2 separate regions of the Homo sapiens genome follow, and region 2 is linked to region 1. Evidence: promoter capture Hi-C in human tissues and cell types (Jung and others, 2019). All regions are on one chromosome and are shown on one strand. The core of a region is centred on a gene start or on the middle of the fragment in contact, and the rest is flanking DNA. Distances in the headings are between cores, read along the strand shown. Region 1 holds the start of SLIT3 (slit guidance ligand 3). Region 2 overlaps SLIT3 (slit guidance ligand 3).

The links. Contacts are between HindIII fragments. The study calls those that stand out against the background at their distance.
Region 2: a fragment that was not itself captured here is called in contact with the fragment with the promoter of SLIT3 in region 1 in 3 of the 25 tissues and cell types used here (liver, mesendoderm cells and thymus).

The regions. Positions count from the first base shown.
Region 1 is chr5:169,299,883-169,306,342 of GRCh38, reverse strand. It overlaps SLIT3 (slit guidance ligand 3), which reads left to right and starts at 5,204. Exons shown (of 36, transcript NM_003062.4): 1 at 5,204-5,830. The coding sequence starts at 5,634. The HindIII fragment of the contact is 12,348 bases long and covers 1-6,460 here.
Region 2 is chr5:169,181,428-169,188,147 of GRCh38, reverse strand. The region is part of intron 4 of SLIT3 (slit guidance ligand 3); the gene reads left to right. Among named protein-coding and RNA genes, the nearest start is that of MIR585, 79 kb to the left of the region's middle. The HindIII fragment of the contact is 5,564 bases long and covers 495-6,058 here.

The DNA.
Region 1 (6,460 bases), core at 3,955-6,454:
TAGGTCCAACAGATGGTATCTTTTCCTTATCCTTTTTAGGCTACTTTCTTAACCCTTTTAGGCCATTTCTCCAGAAATGACCTAAAATTCACATACATGAGCTATTCTCTCTCCCAGGAAAATAGAATAGGGATCATAGTCTTAATCTCAAATTGGGGGTTTCATTTTCTCTCTCCCTGCTTCCTGTTCACCTACTCCTCAAAGATCTGCCTCAGCAGCTCAGTGAGGTAGTGTGTCAGTTTCAGGGTCCCTGGTAGGAAATGGATAATTCAAAGGAGTACCTGAAGAAAGTTTGGTAAAGGGACTATATGGAAAGGTGAGGCAGGGTTAAGAAATCAAAGAGGGGGCCGGGAGCTGTGGCTCACACCTGTAATTGCAACACTTTGGGAGGCTCAGGTGGGTGGATCACGAGGTCAGGAGTTCAAGACCAGCCTGGCCAAGATGGCAAAACCTCATCTCTACTAAAAATACAAAAATTAGCCAGGCGTGGTGGCTGGTGCCTGTAATCCCAGCAACTTGGGAGGCAGAGGCAGAGAATTGCTTGAACCTGGGAGGCAGAGGCTGCATTGAGCCGAGATTGCACCACTGCACTCTAGCCTGGGCGACAAAGCGAGACTCCATCTCAAAAAAAAAAAAACAAAAAAGAAAAGAAAAGAAATCAACCAGGGATGGGGACTGCCCAAAGTTTAGCAGCAGTGGAAAGCTATTTCCACTCCTGTCCTCTAAAGGCATAGTGAGACGGCAGTGGTTTCCAAGGAGACCCATAGCTGTAGAAGACAGCTGCTGAACACGAACTATGACCTTCAATAGGGAAAGGCAGCCACTGACAAACTGCAGTCCTGTGGAGGAAGCCTTGGCCTCTCTCCTCTAGCTCTCTGAGCTAGTTCCCCATATGGCTGGATCCAAGGGAGTTCAGGTGATGCAGTCTATAAAGGTTAGTTTCCTGGGGAACAGTACTGCCTCTGACAGTTGGCAGAGAGTGGATCTGAAGAGTCCACTGGAGAATAATGAGCAGAAATTGTTAGTCCTGATGGGGTGAAGCAAATATATCAGAATTGGGGGTGGCGAATGTGTATCATTTGCAAGAGCATTCTAGAAGAATGTAACCACACCCTCCCCCAAAAGATTGACTAACACTGATTAAACTGAATAAAAATACAATAGGAGAATGTCAAATAAGCTGGCTGATTGAGAAGATCATTCATTTGTTTATTCATTCATTCATGTATTCATTTATTCATCATCAAGATATCAAGATTTGCACCTCTAGATATCAAGATTACAAAACTTGATTAGACATCTCTATATGCCTGAAACTTTTTATAATACAAGTTTGAAAAAATTGGATTACACAGGGTCACTATCTTCAAGAACCTAATAGTCTGGACCAACAAGTCCAGAGGATTCCGCTTCTAAACTGGAGGATTCGGCTGCTACATGGACTCTGGGGTAGACAGACAGGAGAGCAGGAAAGGATGTTCTGGGACGGGTATTGAGTGGATGTGGAGGAGTGGTGGCAGATGAGGTGGAAGAAGCAGAAAACAACTCCAGAGTTCAAAATTGCATTGTCAGGTCTGTATTTAAGATCCTTGGATCATCAGGGCAAAGGACGGATTGGTGAAGCAAAAAACTAAGAAATAAAGTTAGAGAAATTATGTGGGGGCCAATGAGCAATACCTATGCATGAAACTAGGATCTGAACAATAGCAGGAGAACCAGAGATGAAGAGGGGATACATTGAAGAGATGGTCATGGGGAAGAATGAACAGAACTGAAGAATTAAATGGCTGTGGTGTGTGAGAGAGGGAAAATTCTTTGAGCTGTTTTGACTTCTCAATACTCCCACCCACTTTTCAGCTAATAGCTTCTGGGTTTTCCTTTGAGAGAAGGACTCCTACCTGCCCAACTGAGTGCAGTCTCCATAAAACTGTCACCCATAGTTCTTGTCTTCTCTGGCCAAAAGGGTGATCACGTGACTCAAGTCAGGACCATCAATTGCTCCCTCCTGGGAATTTGGAAATCTTGAGCTTGGCACCTAGATCCTGCCTTGGGTCTTGTCTTTGTTGAAGCCTCCATCTTCATTTTTTTCTGTAGATTCTGTGTGCTATCCATGGCTTTCTTTAAAAGTCATTTTTTGGGGAAATTCAATAAGGTAAAGTTTTTTGTTTGTTCTGAGGAACAGAACTGCCTCCGACAGTGGGCAGAGAGTAGATCTGGAGAATTCATTGGAGAACGATGAGCACAAATGGTTAGTCTGGCTGGTTGGAAACAGAAAACCTCCGCTGACTGTGGTGGCCACATGAAGGGTAGTATCTCACACAGGGAAATATACACAGGTTGACGAGAAAGTTTGAGATGGGGTTTCTTGCAGGAATGGGTGAGTAGTTTGCTTTTGAGAAACACAGGTTGAGGAGAAAGTTTGAGATGGGGTTTCCTGCAGGAATGGGCGAGTAGTTTGCTTTTGAAAAGCCTATGGAAAAGTAAAGGGGAAAATTCAAAAGTGTCCAGGGACTTTTACGCAACTCTAAAAATGACACCACAGAGTGTAAAGCCACCTCTGGCCCTTGGACATAGAAAGTTCTAAACAATAGCCTGACCTCCTAGTGATTTACCCAGTCTTCTCCAAGGAGGGTAATTGCTCCATGGGGTGGCTACCGCCTTCTGCAGATGCCCCAGAATCAGCTGAGGAAGTGGACAGAGCCACATGTTCAGCATTGGAAGCCCGGAGTCCTGGCTCTGGTTATTTCACTAATTAGCTAGGTGACCCTACATAAATGCCCGCCTTTCTCTGAAACTCAGCTTCCTTGTTCGTAAAATACAAGAGTTGAACTATATTTGGGTTCTCAAAGTATGTTCCAAGAGAATTTGCAGTTTACATGAAAAGTGGTCCTCTATACTGAGAAACTGGGTTAAATAAGCCTTAAACAGGTTTCCTTACTGCAGGACTTCTCAGGAACTTAAAAACACTCATCTGTGATGCAATTCTCCAAGAGGGGTGAAGGTGAGTAGCATTTCTCAATCTGTCTTTGCCCAAGGAGACTTTTTTCTCCTCCATGATGAAACATGTGGAATCAGTAGTCATCAGAAGGCACTTGTAGAAATGTTGGATTAGGTGATTTCTAAGGCTGTACCAGCCCAAACACTCCATGATTCTGTGTATCCTGGTGTTCTGGGCCCCTCCTGTATTTCCCACTTGCCTCCTCCTTGGGGATGATTGACTCTGAAGGAAATCCTCACCATCTGTTCTAAGGGGCTTCTCCCAGGAAAAGTCACACTTGAATGCCTATAAAGTCCCTTAAAGATACAGTCTGGCTCATGAAACCCCCCTGAGCAGCTTAAATGGAAAACGCAGTCCCCCACTGCGCTCAGAGCACAGATCCAGGACCAGCCCGAAGGGATTGCAAAACATGCTCTAGCATGCATTTGGGAAAACAAAGAAAACCGTACTGTTTTCTGCTCCAGACAGTCTGAGACGCTTTGTGCCCTTGGGCCCTTGCCCGGTTCTCTCATCTGCCTCAGTCCTGGTACTAAATTGGTTCAAGGTTTGGAGGAAAGCTTCAGAGCAAAGGGATAAAAGGATGTTTAGAGTTCTTAAATACCGAAGTCACCCTGAAGACCGGAGCATAGACCCTCGCCAGCCACCAGGGGGCGATAACAACAGCATCTGTACAGAAAGCCGTTCCCAAGAATAACAGCAGTAAATTGCACCTAATGTGTTTATGAATGATGAAGGGACTCGAGTGTGTGTGTTTGAGTGAGTGTGCGTATGTGTGTGTTTGTGTGTACGCGCGCGCAAGTGGGTGCCCAAAGCTAAGACTTTGAAAATCTGCTAAGTATAATACAATAAAATCTACAACTCTACTATATATTCACAGGATGTGGTCAAGTAGTTGAAAGTTTCCTTGAAGGAAAATGAGGTAGAAGAAATCAGAATAGTATTCTTATGAAAGAAAAGAGAAGCGCTCTCAGGAGTATAGTTGTCACTATGTGAGTGTGTGTGCGAGCATGCATGTACACGTGTGTGTGATTGCCGGTGTATAAATGGGTGTGTGTGAGCCTGAGTATGTGAGAGTGTGTGCGTGGCTGTGAATACGTAGGCACCAGTGTGTGTGTATATATATGCAGGGCTCATTCAGGCCTTCTCAGTGTGAGGGGACCTCAAGGAAATCTGGGCAATACTTCCTCCAGTTCCTGCCCTTTCCTTTCAAACAAACAAACAAAATCATTCCTACAAGTATTTATGGAGCCTCTAACGCACACGCCCCTCCCCACTGGCATCTGGAAAAGCTCAGACCTAGCCAATTTAAAGCGGGCGCTGGAAGAAAGAAGGCGCTGGGGACAGAAGGGATGCCTCGTCTGCGAATGACTTTTGCAAAAACACGTTCTCTTCTGTGATGCTCCAAACAACCCAGGGAGGTGAGGCCAGGTAGGACTGTGGCCCCGGATTTGAGAAAACGAAGGCTCAGAGATGACACGATTGGCCCAGAGTCACCCAGTCAGGAAGCAGAAACCCGAGGATGGAACAAGGCATTGTCAATCCAGGGGTCCAAGTCGCTGCCATCACTACTTTTACCAGTCCACCAAGCGCTGGGTCTGGGCAAAGCAGGGCAAGTTTCCGGGTAAGGTTTGCCAGCAGTGACCTCAACAACATGGACCACGGTGTGTGTGTGTGTGTAGCTGTGGAGTACATTGGTGTCAACCAAGGCTCTTCAGGCAAAATTGTGGATCTCTGCCATGAGTACTAGGTGCGGTAGGGAAGCGGCTTCGTGGGCGACACTGCCATGGTTTGGCGTCCCTAGCAGCTGTGCGACCTCCAGCAAGTCGCTTCACTTCTCTGAGCTGTTTTCAGACGACCCCTTGGAAGATCGTGGACTTAAGTAAAGAATATGAGTAGAGTGCTCAGCTCAGTGCAAAAATTAAAAAAAAAAAAGTGTCAGGAGCCTTATCCGTCCTTGGATCTTAACAGTGAATGAGTTTCAGTGTTTCTTTCCAGGGGCCCTGCTGGCCGAGCCCCTTTCCTTCCCTGGTTCCTTCTCTCTCCCTCCTCTACTGCCTCCTCCCTCCAGGCTCTCGGTCGCTCCAGCAAAGTTCCCAACTTAGTCGACATGACGCGCGGCGCAGCCAATGGGAGGCGGAGTTGGCGTTTCTTGGTCGGGGGGGGGCCGGAGGGGTGGGCCCCGCGTCTCCGGTGTCTGCCGTGCTCACTGAATGGAGAGAGCGAGCGCCGGCCAGCTCACCCGGCCGCCCCGTGCCCCAGCCGCAGCCGCCGCGCTCCCCAGCCCAGCCCCAAGCCGGACCTCCCCGGGCGCCACGCCCCATTGCGCTCGCCCCAGGTCCCCAACCCGGCCCGCGGGCCAGCGGGGCCAGGGGGCGCTCCGCACCTGGGCACTCCCAGCGATGCGCAGCGGGGCAGCGCCGGCCCCGCCGATGGAGCTGCTGTTGCTGCCGCCGCCGCCGCCCGGAGCGCCCCGCTCCGCCCGCGCCCCGTGCGCCTGAGCACCGAGCTCGCCCCTCCTCCGCGCTAACTCCGCCGCCCGCTCCCCAGGCCGCCCGCGCTCCCCGCGCGCCTCCTCGGGCTCCACGCGTCTTGCCCCGCAGAGGCAGCCTCCTCCAGGAGCGGGGCCCTGCACACCATGGCCCCCGGGTGGGCAGGGGTCGGCGCCGCCGTGCGCGCCCGCCTGGCGCTGGCCTTGGCGCTGGCGAGCGTCCTGAGTGGGCCTCCAGCCGTCGCCTGCCCCACCAAGTGTACCTGCTCCGCTGCCAGCGTGGACTGCCACGGGCTGGGCCTCCGCGCGGTTCCTCGGGGCATCCCCCGCAACGCTGAGCGCCTGTGAGTACCCCTGCCCCACCCCACGCGGGCCACCCACCTGGGTCCCACCGAGGGGGCCCCAGGCGCCAGATCCGTCCTTTCCCCTCGGCCTCCCTGGATGCAGTCTCTATTCTCATCCCTTCCTGGATACGATCCCTCACTCTCCGAGCTGGGGGTCTGTAGGCTTGGTCAGATCTGGAAAGAGAGGTCTCGAAACCCCCAGCGATGGGCAAAGAGCAGTGCCTCTCCAGGGGTGAGGGTTCCAGACGCAGGGCCCGCTGACAGCTTCCAAGGAGTAGCTGAGGAGAGGCGAGGGGAGGCAAGAGCACTGCAGCCTCAAGGTCTTAGGGTGAGGGTCAGGGGTCTGCGCTCGTTAAAAAGGGGGGCGGGCGAAGGAGAAAGCTATAGGATGATGGGCCGTCAAGGCGCGGAGGCGGGAGAGAGGGCCCGAGACTGTTGACCTGCTTGGAGATCAGAATGGGCCAGCCGCTCTCTGGCTGCCCTTGCAAGGAAAGTTGAGAGTGTGGGTGAAGGTTTAACTTCTGAGGAACTGGACAGATTCAGAGTGGGTGCTCGCAAAACCCGCTCTGCCTGGAGCGCAGTCTGGGAGATGCCAAGTTGCAGCCCCGGGTGAATTTTTTATGGCTCGGT
Region 2 (6,720 bases), core at 2,027-4,526, 120 kb after region 1:
ACCTCTACCAAAAATACAAAAATATAGCTAGGCATGATGGCCTGCACCTGTGGTCCCAGCTACTTGGGAGGCTGAGGTGCGGGGATCGCTTGAGCCCTGGAGACGGAGGTTGCAGTGAGCTGAGATCACACCACTGCACTCCAGCTTGGGCGACAGAGTGAGACCCCATCTCAAACAAACAAAATACACCTTCTGTCTTTTACCAGATGTGAGAGCTTGCGGCAGGGCGGAGGGTGAGTGGTGAGGGACACATGGGTTCACAACTTTTTTTTTTTTTTAAGAATTTATCGTTGCAGCTGGGAGCGGTAGCTGACGCCTGTAATCCCAACACTTTGGGAAGCCGAGGCGGGCTGATCACTTGAAGCCAGGAGTTTGAGACAAGCCTGGCCAATGTGGTGAAACCCCGTCTCTACTAAAAATACAAAAATTAGCTGGGCGTGGTGGTGCATGCCTGTCATCCCAGCTATTCCGGAGACTGAGGCACAAAAATCACTGATCCCAGGAGGTGGAGGTGGCAGTTAGCCGAGATTGTGCCACGGCACTCTAGCTTGGATGGCAGAGCGAGACTGTCTCAAAAAAAAAAAAAAAGAAAGAAAGAAAGAAAAAGAAAAGAAAAAAAGTTTATCCTTGCCCTATAAGGATGAGCAGACCAAGGGGCTCCTTTTGGCCCACCTATCCCAGATTCAGGTTCAAATAGTGTGTTCCATATTTGGTAATGGTTTAAAACTTATAGCTGCTGCCGGCCGCGGTGGCTCACACCTGTAATCCCAGCACTTTGGAAGGCCAAGGTGGGCGGATGACGAGGTCAAGAGATAGAGACCATCCTGGCCAACATGGTGAAACCCTGTCTCTACTAAAAACACAAAAATTAGCAGGGTGTGGTGGTGCGTGCATGTAGTCCCAGCTACTCAGAGGCTGAGGCAGGAGAATCGCTTGAACCCAGGAGGCAGAGGTTGAAGTAAGCTGAGATCATGCCACTGCACTCCAGCCTGCTGACAAAGTGAGACTCCGTCTCAAAAAAAAAAAAAAAAAAAAACCTATAGCTGCATAAGCAGTTGTACTCACAGCCAGATGGAGGACTTATTTATTCTCCATTCAGTTATACGAGGTATTTGACAGCTTTAAAAAAAAAAAATGCCACTGAGGCTAAACCTGCTGTCATTCACTTGGGCAGTGGAGTTGCAAGTGACTTGGAAAGTTAATCCCCAGGCACCCGACAACTATATGCAATGTGGCCAACCAACTTAGCCCCAAGTCACTGGCGCTGTTATCATGGTATCATGGTGGAGCAGATTCCCCACCAAAAAGTTCAAGGCTGCTAGACTCCAGCTTCCAGGGAACTTGCTTCCCAGGGCTGAGTCCTCCTCTGAACTCTCATCTTGGCTAGTCTGCGCCGCCTCTTCATATTCACCATTTTCTGCTTTTATCACAGGTGTCGCGTATACATGCTCCAAGCCCACACAAATTGGGAGCTGCATTCAGAACCATTATCTCATGTTTCTTTGAGGCAGTCCAATATTAGAGCAAGGATCAGAAACTTGGGAACCAGACAGACCTGGGTTTGAATTCCACCTTCTGGTGACCCTGGGCAAGTGACCTCACCTTTTTCAGTCTTGTGTTGGTTAGCTACACAATAGGAATGCTAATCATAGCTCCTATAATAGCTTGCTCAGCTACCATCACAAAATACCACACACCGAGTGGCTTAAACTACAGAAATATATTTTCTCACAGTTCTGGAGGATAGAAGTCCAAGATCAAGATGCTGGCTGGATTAGTTCCTCCTGGTGCCTCTCTCCTTGGCTTGCAGATAGCCACCTTCCCTGCTGCCTCCTCACGTGGTTGTGCCTCTGTGGTAGCATAACCCTGGTGTCTCCTCCTCTTCTTATGGGGACACCAGTTATGTTGGATTAGGGATCCACCCTAATGGCCTCATTTTAACCTGATAGCCACTTTAACAACCTGATCTCCAATATGGTTATATTCTGAGGTATTGGGATTAGGGTTTCAACATAAGCATTTCGGGGAGGGAGGGTCAGGGGCATTTCAGCCTTAATCAGTTCCCAAATGTGTGTGGTGAATTTACTAGGGGCAGGTCCTCTGCAAAGTGCTTCACCTATATTCTGTCACTTCCTCTCAGATTTCAGAGGTAGATACAATATTATCCCCATTTTAGAGATACAGAAACAGAGGCCTAGAGATTTAGACAGCTTGCCCAAGGTCACAGAGCCAGTAACTGGCTGAGCCAAAGTTGAAACTCAAGCTTGCCTGACACCAGAGCCCACATTCCTAACCGTGATTCCTGTACTGTACTTTGGAGAAGTTACTAACTAAAGTGCCAGGCGCCTAGTTAGGAATTTAGTAAATGCTAGCTCCCTTATCTCTATGAAGCCCTAAAAGAGCTCAGAGTTGTTGAATGACTGGAGCCCTGTACCTCTAGGTAGTGCTTTCTGCTACTCACAGAGCCCTTTGCAGTCACCTTAGTCTTCCAATTCGGCACTAAACTTTAAAACATAACTACAAGCAAAATGTGTCCCTATAAAACTCTGCATTGATGTGAAACAGTGCTATAAAAGTGAAAAACCAGTGGAGAAAACAAAAACCATACTACCCAAATTTCCAGTGGAGTTATTGTCTGATGTGGTGAAATGATAATAGCACAACAGAAAAACCAATCCATCAGGCTGGTGTGGGGCTTCAGAGGCTGCCCCCCTGCCTGAAGCTGGATGCGGAGACCTGCTCCCTTGTGCGCTGGCATGGATTTCAGAGGCCGGGGGACGGCAAGACCAGCCTCACCATCTCATACATGGGGTCACGTTTTTTCAGGGACACAGCCACCCAAAGCTCATGGAAAATGTCCCTGCAAACTGAGTCCCGATTTCCTGATTTTTCTCCTTGTTCCCCCAAACGCTGAACACTGCAGTGAGGCCAGCCTTGTGTTTGCTTTATGGCACATGTCATCAATTCCAGAGTTTGTGATGCTTTTGAAGACAGGTTTTGCTTTAATCTGTGTGTGGACAGAGAATGGATTATGGTGGTTGCTGTGTCATTCTCTCTGTAGTACCTGAAGCCAGAGCCAGGGATGAAGGCCTGGGAGGTGTCGTCTCTCTCCTCCGATAGGATGTGTCCAGCTGAGCATAGAAGCCTGCGGACTTGCCACAGAGTTGATAACAAAGCCAACATTTAAATTGCCTTGTAGATTCTTGCATTACAGAATTTTTGAGCTAGGAATAGCAATCTAGACCAGTGCTTCTCAAACTTTAGTATGTATCTGAACACCTAAGGATCTTGTTAAAATGTGGATTCTGATTGTGTAAGTCTGGAACACGACCTAAGAATCTGCATGTCTAACATATTCCGAAGTGATTGTGCTGGCCTAGCACCACAGCAGAGCAAGGACCTAGGCTATGGTTGGTTTTCAAACTTAGCATATAGAAACAAATATCTTGAAAGGATGGTTAAAATGCTGCATCCCAGGCCACACAGCCGGGAAGTCTGGTTCATTAGATTTGGAATGGACCGGGGGATTTGACTTTGTAAATAGGCACCCTAGGTGATTTTGTTGTGTGTCACTTAGGGGCATACTTTAAGAAACATCGATCTCATATAGCCCCTGTTATTTTATATATTTTGAAGGAAGGAACCAAACATCTTTTGAGCACCTAATGTGTGCTAGGTACCTTATGTTGATGCCAACTCCTTCAGTCCTCCCAAGAATCCTGCATGAAAGGTGTTTTTATGCTTGCTACACTGATGAGGAAACTGGGCTTGAGTTTCACTCACTCACCAGAAATGAACCCAGGTCTCTCTGACTTTCTCACCCTCTTACTCCTGTGAGTTTTTTCCCTACCTTATGATGTGCTTTCTATGCAGAAACACATCTTGAATGGGAGAGGGATAACAATCATAAATTTATGAAGCTTTCATGGTTCAGTATTTTGAACTTATAAGCGCATATGAGTATATATAAGCACGTGCTCTTATCTGAGATCTAGGATATTAATACTTGAAACATTGAAAGAAAAAGATTTATAGACCTAAATACATGCTAGCAAGTAGACCTTTCTAAATTCCCTACAATTTATCAAAGGTAGAGTTGGGTTTTACATTTTAGTCTCTTCAGCCCTGTGGGCCAGCAGAAGAGTTTTCTAAAGTGATCGGGCAATACTTGTACTGAGAAGTACATTCTGCCAGCTTGGAAATTGTTTTTAAATTTTTTTTAAGAAGGAAAGAAAACCAAGCTGTGACTTTACAATGCTTTGGAATTACAGAATATGCTTGTAATTTTTACAATTCTGCACAGACTTCTTTGCCACATCTGGTTGATATTACTGGAAGGGATATATGGGGGAATAAACCATGGTCTGGAATGTGAAACATCCCACAAAATGAGTTTCTTATAGGTTGCTGCATAAAACATTTTGAATCTCCTTCTCTTTGGAAGGGTGGCTTAAGTGATTTCATGGATTTAGTATTTTCTTTGGTTTGAAGGTAAGGGCTTTTGCTGGTTTACTTGGTGGGCCTTCCAAGATGGTTTTCTGAAGATGTTTGTGTCATCCTAGAGTCATGTCATGGACCAGAGTGAGAAAAGCCATCCTTTAAGGAAATCAGACCAACCTTTGTTGAACAGCACTGGACCATTAGAGATAATGGTGAAATGTGGGACCAACTGAATCCCTCACTGCAAGAAAGGAGGCATGTAGGGAGAAAGGGTTGTATGTGTAAGGGCTTCAGAAAAACCTCCTAAATCTTGGCCATGGTGGTACATTGAACAGCTGATGGCAAGACAAGCTCACCTCCTCGCACATACAGCTGAAAGCCTTCATACATCAGTGTACTCTCTTTACTACGTATGAAAGTAGTGAGTGAGGAAAATGGAAAAATAAAACAAACACCCAGCTTATACTTGGGACTCAGTCAATTCCCTGTTGTTAACATTCCTGCCCCCTTTCTAGGAAGAGAAGTATGTGTCCAGGGACAACTAAAGTATTGTTGAACGCCTACTGTGTGTGTCACTCCAATGTGCTGGTGGTTGGGATGCTGAGTATAGAACCCAGAAATGTCTAACCTGAGCCCGGAGGGTATAAGTGTGGGCTTCTTGCCACCTCGCTCTTTCTCAGACTTCCTTGGCTGGGACCCACCTGTGGAGTTGAAACTGTGACAGCTGAGCCCTTTCTGCACAAAATCAGTGCTGCTCTCAGCACCCTGTGACCTGTGGTGGGGTTGGCCAGCCTAGGCAGGGTTTTGTGGCATCACCAAGGGTACTCAAATAGTCATCTCTTTGTTAAGAACGAGAACCAGAAGCCAGCCTTCACCCATACCATTCTTCATTCTCTTTATCTGGAGTTAGAAACTATCCATGGAATTAAATATTAGGGAAATACTGCATTGTATATAGAAAAATAACAACCTTTTGAGGTGAGCAGAACCCAAACACACATTCTTCAGTTGTCTGAAAGATGCAAATGTACCCACATCAATAATCTTGAAATATTTGTTCCTGAACCACATTCAGCATCAACAGAAACATTTCTAAAGAGCCTAATTATCTCTCATTTTCAACCAACATTTGGGAATCCCTCCAGGGGACAAATAGTATTTTAATTTGATGCCCCAAATTCTAGCATAATTTCAAATCACCAAAAACATCTGTAACTTTGTCTTTCTTCTGGCTTTCCTATGGACTCAGTATCTTGGATTTGAACATTAAATTCCATTTGTAAGGTTTGCAGTTCATTTACAAAGTCCAGGAGGTTGAGGTCTGTAATGAAAGTGTTGATACAATATTAACAACAGCAAAGCTATGATAACACAGCACTGTCCAAACCAAATAGAAATGGAGACGTTTAAGTCAATTTCATGCTCCTTGCCTAAATTTGGTGAGCTGGACCTGAGTTTTTGATTCATGGTTTAGAATAATATTCTGATGTTTTATTCATGATGTTTCTTTTTTCCCATCGTTCCTTTTCTAATTCTCCTCACCCTACTTATGGTGATGAAGCCTGCTTAGAAGTGTGGCCCGCCCGCCCCTTGATTAGCACTGCCTGTTGCGTAGCCAAAAACTCTCCCCACGGTTGGCCAAGTGGAATATCCTGCTGTTGAACTGATGGTTTGGCCTCTTGTTGGCGTGTCTGGGGCTCTGGACTTGAATTTTTAGTCAACGAGTCAGCTTTTGATTGAAATATATGTTGAATCATGCCAACGTTTCTCCAGATAAAGGGAACATCTTGACTTTTGGAGGTCAAAATGCTCTGTCTAAAGAAGAAAACTGGATTTTCAAGAGAGTACAAGGATAACCTATGACTAATCTCTTCTATCTCAGTCTCATTCAATTTGGGATTTGTGAAACTGTATTGTGGATCAAGATACTCAGATAAATCTAACTTCAATAATTTTTTTTTTTTTTTGAGATGAAGTCTCGCTCTGTCGCCAGGCTGGAGTGGCAGTGGCACGATCTTGGCTCACTGCAACCTCCACCTCCCAGGTTCATGCGATTGTCCTGCCTCAGCCTCCTGAGTAGCTGGGACTACAGGTACGCGCCACCACACCCAGCTAATTTTTTGTATTTTTAGTAGAGACAGGGTTTCACCATGTTGGCCAGGATGGTCTCGATCTCTTGACCTCGTGATCCGCCCACCTCAGCCTCCCAAAGTGTTGGGATTACAGGTGTGAGCCACTGCACCCGGCCAACTTTAATAATTTTTTAAAGATGAAAACCAG